2 separate regions of the Homo sapiens genome follow, and region 2 is linked to region 1. Evidence: promoter capture Hi-C in 16 types of primary human blood cells and fetal thymus (Javierre and others, 2016). All regions are on one chromosome and are shown on one strand. Each heading gives the region's core, a stretch centred on a gene start or on the middle of the fragment in contact. The rest is flanking DNA. Distances are from core to core; before and after follow the strand shown.

Region 1 (3,412 bases), core at 265-2,764:
CTCCCCAGAACTCAATTTGGATTTGCTAGAGTATCTAACAATACTTCAACACTTGTTAAGCTGCTGGTTTTCCTCTGTTTTCTCTCCTTCTAAAAGACATTTCTCTGAGTTCTGCAGCAGGAACAGAATCTCAGCTAATTTACTGTCTTCACTGAACGTTACCACCACCCACCCCTTCCCTTCCAGGTGCGGCAAAGAGGAAACAGACACAAGGTGGTCTAGAGGTCCATTTCATTTCAATGAGTGTGACAGCCGCTCTTCTTGGGGCCTATGGGGGAAAGGCATTGGTCCGTGGTGGGAGTGAAGCTGCTCCCACAAGATGCATTCCCAACTGGATCAGGAAGACCTTCAGATTTAGGGGAGGTCTTTGTGGAAGTCTTTAGTGGAGTCTTCCCCTGCCCGCTAGATGTCCGGTCGGTTTTAGCCCGCGTTGGCTACTGGATGGTCCGCTGTGCGGGCTTCTTGGGCTCCTGCTTCTCTTCCCTGGGCTTGGAGCTTCGCCTCTTGTCCTTCCCTGACCTCGGCGTGGTGTCTTCCTTCACGGCCTGTCCTCGCCCCTCGTCTGCCGCTGTCGCTCCCGCTTCCTCCTTGGCTCTGGCACACGGCGGCTCCTTGGCTCTCGGCCTTGCCCTCCTGGTCCTCCTCGCCCTGGCATTGGCCTTGGCTTTCGCCCTCGCGTTCCGTCTCCACACTTCTCTGGCCTTCCTGGCCGCCTTGCGAAGGGGCTGGCGGCGCCTCCGGGAGCTCCGGGGCGCGGCTGGGGTCCTCCAGGGAGCGCGCGTGCCCTCCTCTTGCCTCGCGCGTCCCGGCTTTCTCCTGGGCTTGGGAACCTTCCAGACCCTGAAGTAGCCGGCGGCGTCGCTGCCGCTGACCCGGAGGAGCGTGGCCTTGGCCTGCCCCCTGGGCGCTTCGTGGCGGCCGCTCTTCCTGCGCACTTCGTAGCCGGCGTTTCGGAGCTCCTTCTTGAGAGCTGCCAGAGTCAGCCCTTTGTGAGTGGAGATGGCCTGGAGCACCAACTGGGACACTCTGAGCACGGAGCTTGAGCAGCCCCTCGATGGTCCCCCGACAGTTTTTTCCGCTGGCAGCTGAGTGGCTGAGTGTCCTCGGGATTCGCCACTGGGCCCAGGCGCCTCAGCCATGGCCCCACTCCCGCCTCTGCGGGGCCACCGGCTTTGGGCCTCACCAGTCAAGGCCTGTTCCATAGCTGAGGTAGACTGGGCCACGTCACAAAGGCAGGCCTGGCAGAGATTTTCAGGTCCTAATTATGGGGCTGGCATATCTCACCCGGGGAGGGGCCCTTTTCACTTATAATAACCAATCAAATGCCACTTCCTTCTAGGTCTAAACCAATCCAAGTCTTCAGCGCCTGTCCACCCCCAACAGTCACCTACCTATAGAGTCTCCAGGGTTTTGTTCCCAAATCAAACTTACTGATCTCGATCTCCACCGCTTTCTTTAGTCGGCTATTTTGTGTGTGTATGTGGTCCTGCAAACCATCTACCCACAGTTCCTTAAGGTGAGCGAAGCTGCTCCCAACTATCCAAAACAAGCAACACACTGCCTGTAGAAAGTACACGGGGTAGTCCATGAAACACAACCCAGATTAGAAACTCCCACCTTTAATTCCACCAGTCAGGTATCTGAAGTCATGTCTCCCTAATTCTACACAGTGGATTCTGTGCAAGAGCATGAAGTAAAAAAGGAACCAATTGTGTGATCCCTCTACCCTAAACACTGATTCCCACACCTGGGAAATTTAGATGACGCATTCAACTGTACTGAAACAATCTAGATTTCACATCGCCTGAGGATACTGGTCTAATCATTATTCTTTGAACATACTGTGTTTTTTTCCATCTCATCCCCTCTCTTGGATTTCTCATCCTCTTTGTCTGCCCAGATAAGTCCTGCTCATCTTTCAAGGTACTGCTACATTATCCTTCTTCACTGAAGACTCCCCAAACTCTTTCAAATGATTTCTTGCCTCTTAACTACCACAACCACCAAAATTACTTCTGCAATCTTATATGGCTTTTTCTTTATTTTAAATGAATTTGGCATTAGAGGGTATAATGTGACACAATATTTTTTAAAAAGAAAAAAACTCGTACTTGGAGCTGGAAGATATGGATGCATATCCTAGCTCTTTAGGAGCCATATGACATTAACAAATCCCTTAATATCAGTGGTGTGGCTGTCAGATGGATGTGCCGGCCATCTGACTTCTTATCTAACATCACATTCCCTTCCTACCAACATCACAGAATTATTGCAAAATTTCAGAAGAGGTAGATGAACAAGGGCTACCTAAATATAAGGAATAAATTTACTTTACTTTGAATGTTTCTGTCTTGTATTTCCAACTAAATAAAGATATCCTCAAGAGCTATAGTCTTTGAACTTCTATGTCCCATGCTGCACCTAACAATATGCTTCATTATACACAGCGGGCATTTAATTGAGCCTGCTTACATCATTCCTCTCTGGTGAGGAGAGTTTCTCTAGATTCAGAAAGAAACTTCCAGAAGATCAGGAGAAAGGAGCAGAGTGAATTTCAAAGGGTTGGAAATGAAGGGGGCCAAGTAAGGATTAGCTTATCAAGGACCTATTTTGGACACAGTTTAGTTGGGAATAATTTAAAGTATTATTCTAAGAATACTTCAAATTGCCAAGCATATCATACTTTTCCAGAGGGCAATCACATACATTCATCAGTCACAGGCTAGACAGTGACAGTTTCTTTTAAAAATCAAAGCTCCAGGAAGTAGCTTAGACCAGTGCTTTTTTTTTTTTTTTTTGAGACAGAGTCTTGCTCAGCCCAGGCTATGTAATGGCACAATCTTGGCTCACTGTAACCTCCACCTCCTGGGTTCAAGCAATTCCTGTGTCTCACCCTCCCAAGAAGCTGGGATTACAAGCATGTGCCACCACATCCAGCTAATTTTTTTTTTTTTTTTTTGAGACAAAGTCTCACTCTGTTGCCCAGGCTGGAGTGCAGTGGTGCAATCTCGGCTCACTGCAACCTCCGCCTCCTGGGTTCAAGTGATTCTCGTGCCTCAGCCTCCCAAGTAGCTAGGATTACAGGTTCCTGCTACCATGCCCAGCTAATCTTAGTATTTTTAGTGGAGATGGGGTTTCACCAGGCTGGTTGGCCAAGCTGGTCTCAGACTCCTGACCTCAGGTGATCCACCCACCTTGGCCTCCCAAAGTGCTGGGATTACAGGCGTGAGCCACTGCGCCTGGCCCTTATTTATTTATATATTGGTAGAGACGAGGTTTTGCCATGTTGGCCAGGCTGGTCTCGAACTCCTGGCCTCAAGCAATCCACCCACCTCAGCCTCACAAACTGCTGGGATTATAGGCATGAGCCACTGCGCCCAGCCAGACCAGTGCTTCTTAAACTTCAATGTGC
Region 2 (3,383 bases), core at 665-3,164, 130 kb before region 1:
GAAACTCCATCTCAAAAAACAAACAAACAAAAAAACTAAACAAAAATAAAAAACCACCACCACCACCACCACCACCACCAACAACAACAACAAAAAACTGCTTGTTGCATTCATTTGGCACCAAGCTTACGGCCCATTCTTCTGAGTTCGGGCCTGGGGCCCTACGGTCACCTCTCACTCTATACCACCCCCAGCTTGGTCTGATTCCATTTAATTTCATAGTCTATGGATTACCCACGATGTGCTGGGGACATATTACACAGAGACCACATATTAATAGGGGAGACAGACACAAGTAACTACACACTAAACTTAATGCATGATTTAGGAGCTACAAAGTATCTAGAAACCACCAAGAAAGGAAAGATTTTAACAGTAGGATCACATCTAAATATTCAGCATCCTATGAAAGATTCTTGGCAGACTGGTCCTCATAATGGTGATAATATGCTTTCCTTGATTTGAAGATGCACACTTTTCGTACTTTGGTGTTTCTGAGATTCAGCTGCTTCTTACAATTGATGTGTGCATTTAATGTGGTTTATTCTGCTTGCCAAAGAAGAAAAAAGCTGATAATTAACAGATAGTTCAGTTTTTTCAACTGATGAGAACCTAGACAGAGGGAAATATATTAATAATAACACAGCACTAATGGGCTAGACAATATGCTAAATGTTATGTGAACATCTCATTTCATCCTCACAACCAACCTAACATGGAGAACAATTGTCAAAGCCATTTTCCAGGCAAAGAAACAAAGAGAAATAGCTTTCCCAAGGTCACGGCAGGCGAGGAGCAGAGTTGGGATTCAAATTTAACCCTCTTTGGCTCCAGAGTCCATGATCTTAATCTCAAATGCTACCTGTTCACATCTCTCTTCCTTTACTAAACTGGTTCCTCTGCCGGGAAGACTTCTGCCACTCCTCGTTCTAAGACTTGCTTCTCTAGATAAGGCAGGGTCAAATGGTATCTTTCCTGTAACTATTTCCCTGACCACTTGATACAGCTTGAATTTTTCCTCCTCTGAACTCCCATAGCAATCTTGTCACACTGGTAGAGTATAACTTACTATACTGCATTACAGCTGTCAGTATAACTTTATTCCTCATTACAGTGTGAGTGTCTTAAAGGCAGAGACTCTCTCCTACTCGTCTTTATATACCCAGGGCCCAATACAGTGCCTGGAAAACAATTGTTGTTGGCTGAGCTGCTTAAAAAATGTGTTTTCCCTACTTCGTTGAGATATAGAGAAAGCTTTACAGACTTTTAAATGATAATTTATTGAGTACAAACTACTGACATAATATTAGCTAAGAGCTTTATATGCTCTTATACTTTTTGTGAGAAGAAATGAGATAATCAGTGTAAAACACTTAAAATAGCGTATGGCACATGGTAAGGATTCAATCACGTTATTTTTTAATTATTATCACTATTTAACCATTGTGAAAATTCACTGAGTAGTTACTATGATTGTTAGTGTTCTATAAATAAGGCAACTGAGTAATAGAAGGCGAAGAAACTTATTCACTGTCAAACAGACAATGAAGGACAGATTTTGATCATTTATGTGTATGTATCAAATCTTACCTCATGGATACATTTTTCATAATTTTACACAGTGCAGGGGGTATCTCTGCCTGTTCTCTAGACTTCCAGTGCCTGTTAGCTCTTCTGTACAATCATGTTGGAGCTGCTCACTGATCTTTAGGTGCTGCTCAACTCCAGGTTTTCTTGTTATTTAAATCTTTTCTTCAGCCTCTCTGCTCCAAAACCTGGAAGATCTGAAAGAAAAACTTGGCTGAATATGGTTGTGTCTCTGACAAAGACTGCTGTTCTGCTGACGTTTCTCTGAGATCTGTAACAACTCTGTCTGCATCCCAAGCCATGGGTTTGGTGAGCTGCTTAAAATTGGCAGTCAAAACTCTGATTTGACCATAAAGACATATGTATGCATATGTTCATCACAGCGCTTTTCACAATAGCAAAGACATGGAATCAACCTAGATGCCCATTAACAGTGGACTGGAAAAAGAAAATGTGGTATATATACACCATAGAATACTATGCTGCCATCAAAAAGAATAAAATCATGGCTTTTGGAGCAACATGGATGCAGCTGGTGGCCATTATCCTAAATGAACTAATACAGGAACAGAAAACCAAATCGTGCATGTTCTTATTTATAAGTGGGAGGTAAACATTGAGTACACAGGGACACAAAGAGGAGAACAATAGACACTGGGGCCTACTTGAGGTTGGAGGATGGGATTGAAAAACTGCCTGTCTGGTACTATGCTCACTACCTGGATGATGAAATCATTTGTACACCAAACTCCAGTGACACGCAATTTACCCACATAACAAACCTGCACAGGTACCCTCTGAACCTAAAAGTTGGAAGGAAAAACAAACCCAAAAGGAAGCCCCTATGATTTGAAGAAACTTGCAGTAGTCAAAACTTGTCATTCTAAAGTTGAGCCACAAGGAAGCAGTAGTGTCCTAGCTGTAAGGTCTGAAGATGCTGGCATATTTATTCTAATGCCTTCCCTAGACTTACAACCTTAAGCTTTGCATATTTCATTTACTAAGTTACTATAGTTACCCAACAGTATTTGTAAAATATGATACTTGGAATTTATGTTACAAAGAAATAATTTCAATCTTAAAAAGAGAGTCAAAGTATAATTTTGCATTTTTCTTTTAACACTTATTTTATGCTGCATAACTTTCCTCTGAGGCTGCATTAAATAAAGAAGGAAAGAGATAGAGAAGAAGGGGCAGGAGGACAGAAAGCAGGCCACAGGCTTTATTCTTAGCAATCAGACCTGCTCAGGCAAACCCCACATCTCCTAGGCCTTTCTAATCTGCCTGCAGTTTGTGATAGTCTTCATCTTTTTTCTATGTCAGGTAAAAATGACTATGCAGCCTGTCCAATCTGATTAATCGAATTAAAGAACAGTCTTGGCCGGGTGCGGTGGCTCAAGTCTGTAATCCCAGCACTTTGGGAGGCCGAGGTGGGCAGATCACGACGTCAGGAGATGGAGACTATCCTGGCCAACATGGTGAAACCCTGTCTCTAGTAAAAATACAAAAAAAATTAACTGGATGTGGTGGTGTATGCCTGTAGTCCCAGCTACTTAGGAGGCTGAGGCAGGAGAATCACTTGAACCCAGGAGGCAGAGGTTGCAGTGAGCTGAGATCGCACGACTTCTCGCCAGCCTGGCAACAGAGTGAGACTCCGTCTCAAAAAAAAAAAAAAAAAAAACAAACAAAAAAAGAGAGAGAGAGAGAGAACTGTCTTGATTTTCCTTCCTATAATTTAGAGCCCCTGATTTATTTTTCAACAATAACAGGAGTTCCCTGACCTCATGGTATCCTGA

Evidence for each region. The method cuts DNA at HindIII sites, captures the fragments that hold promoters and counts their contacts. A CHiCAGO score of 5 or more calls a contact.
Region 2: a contact is called between a fragment that was not itself captured here and the fragment with the promoter of H1-7 in region 1, in 1 of 17 cell types (megakaryocytes). The highest score is 7.6, in megakaryocytes.

Annotation. Positions count from the first base shown.
Region 1 is chr12:48,327,082-48,330,493 of GRCh38, reverse strand. H1-7 (H1.7 linker histone) reads right to left here and starts at 1,514. Exons shown (of 1, transcript NM_181788.1): 1 at 215-1,514. The coding sequence starts at 1,202. The coding sequence ends at 435. RefSeq lists an enhancer at 257-756. The HindIII fragment of the contact is 4,449 bases long and covers 1-3,412 here.
Region 2 is chr12:48,453,982-48,457,364 of GRCh38, reverse strand. It overlaps a transcript of C12orf54 not described here. Among named protein-coding and RNA genes, the nearest start is that of ANP32D, 17 kb to the left of the region's middle. The HindIII fragment of the contact is 1,315 bases long and covers 1,257-2,571 here.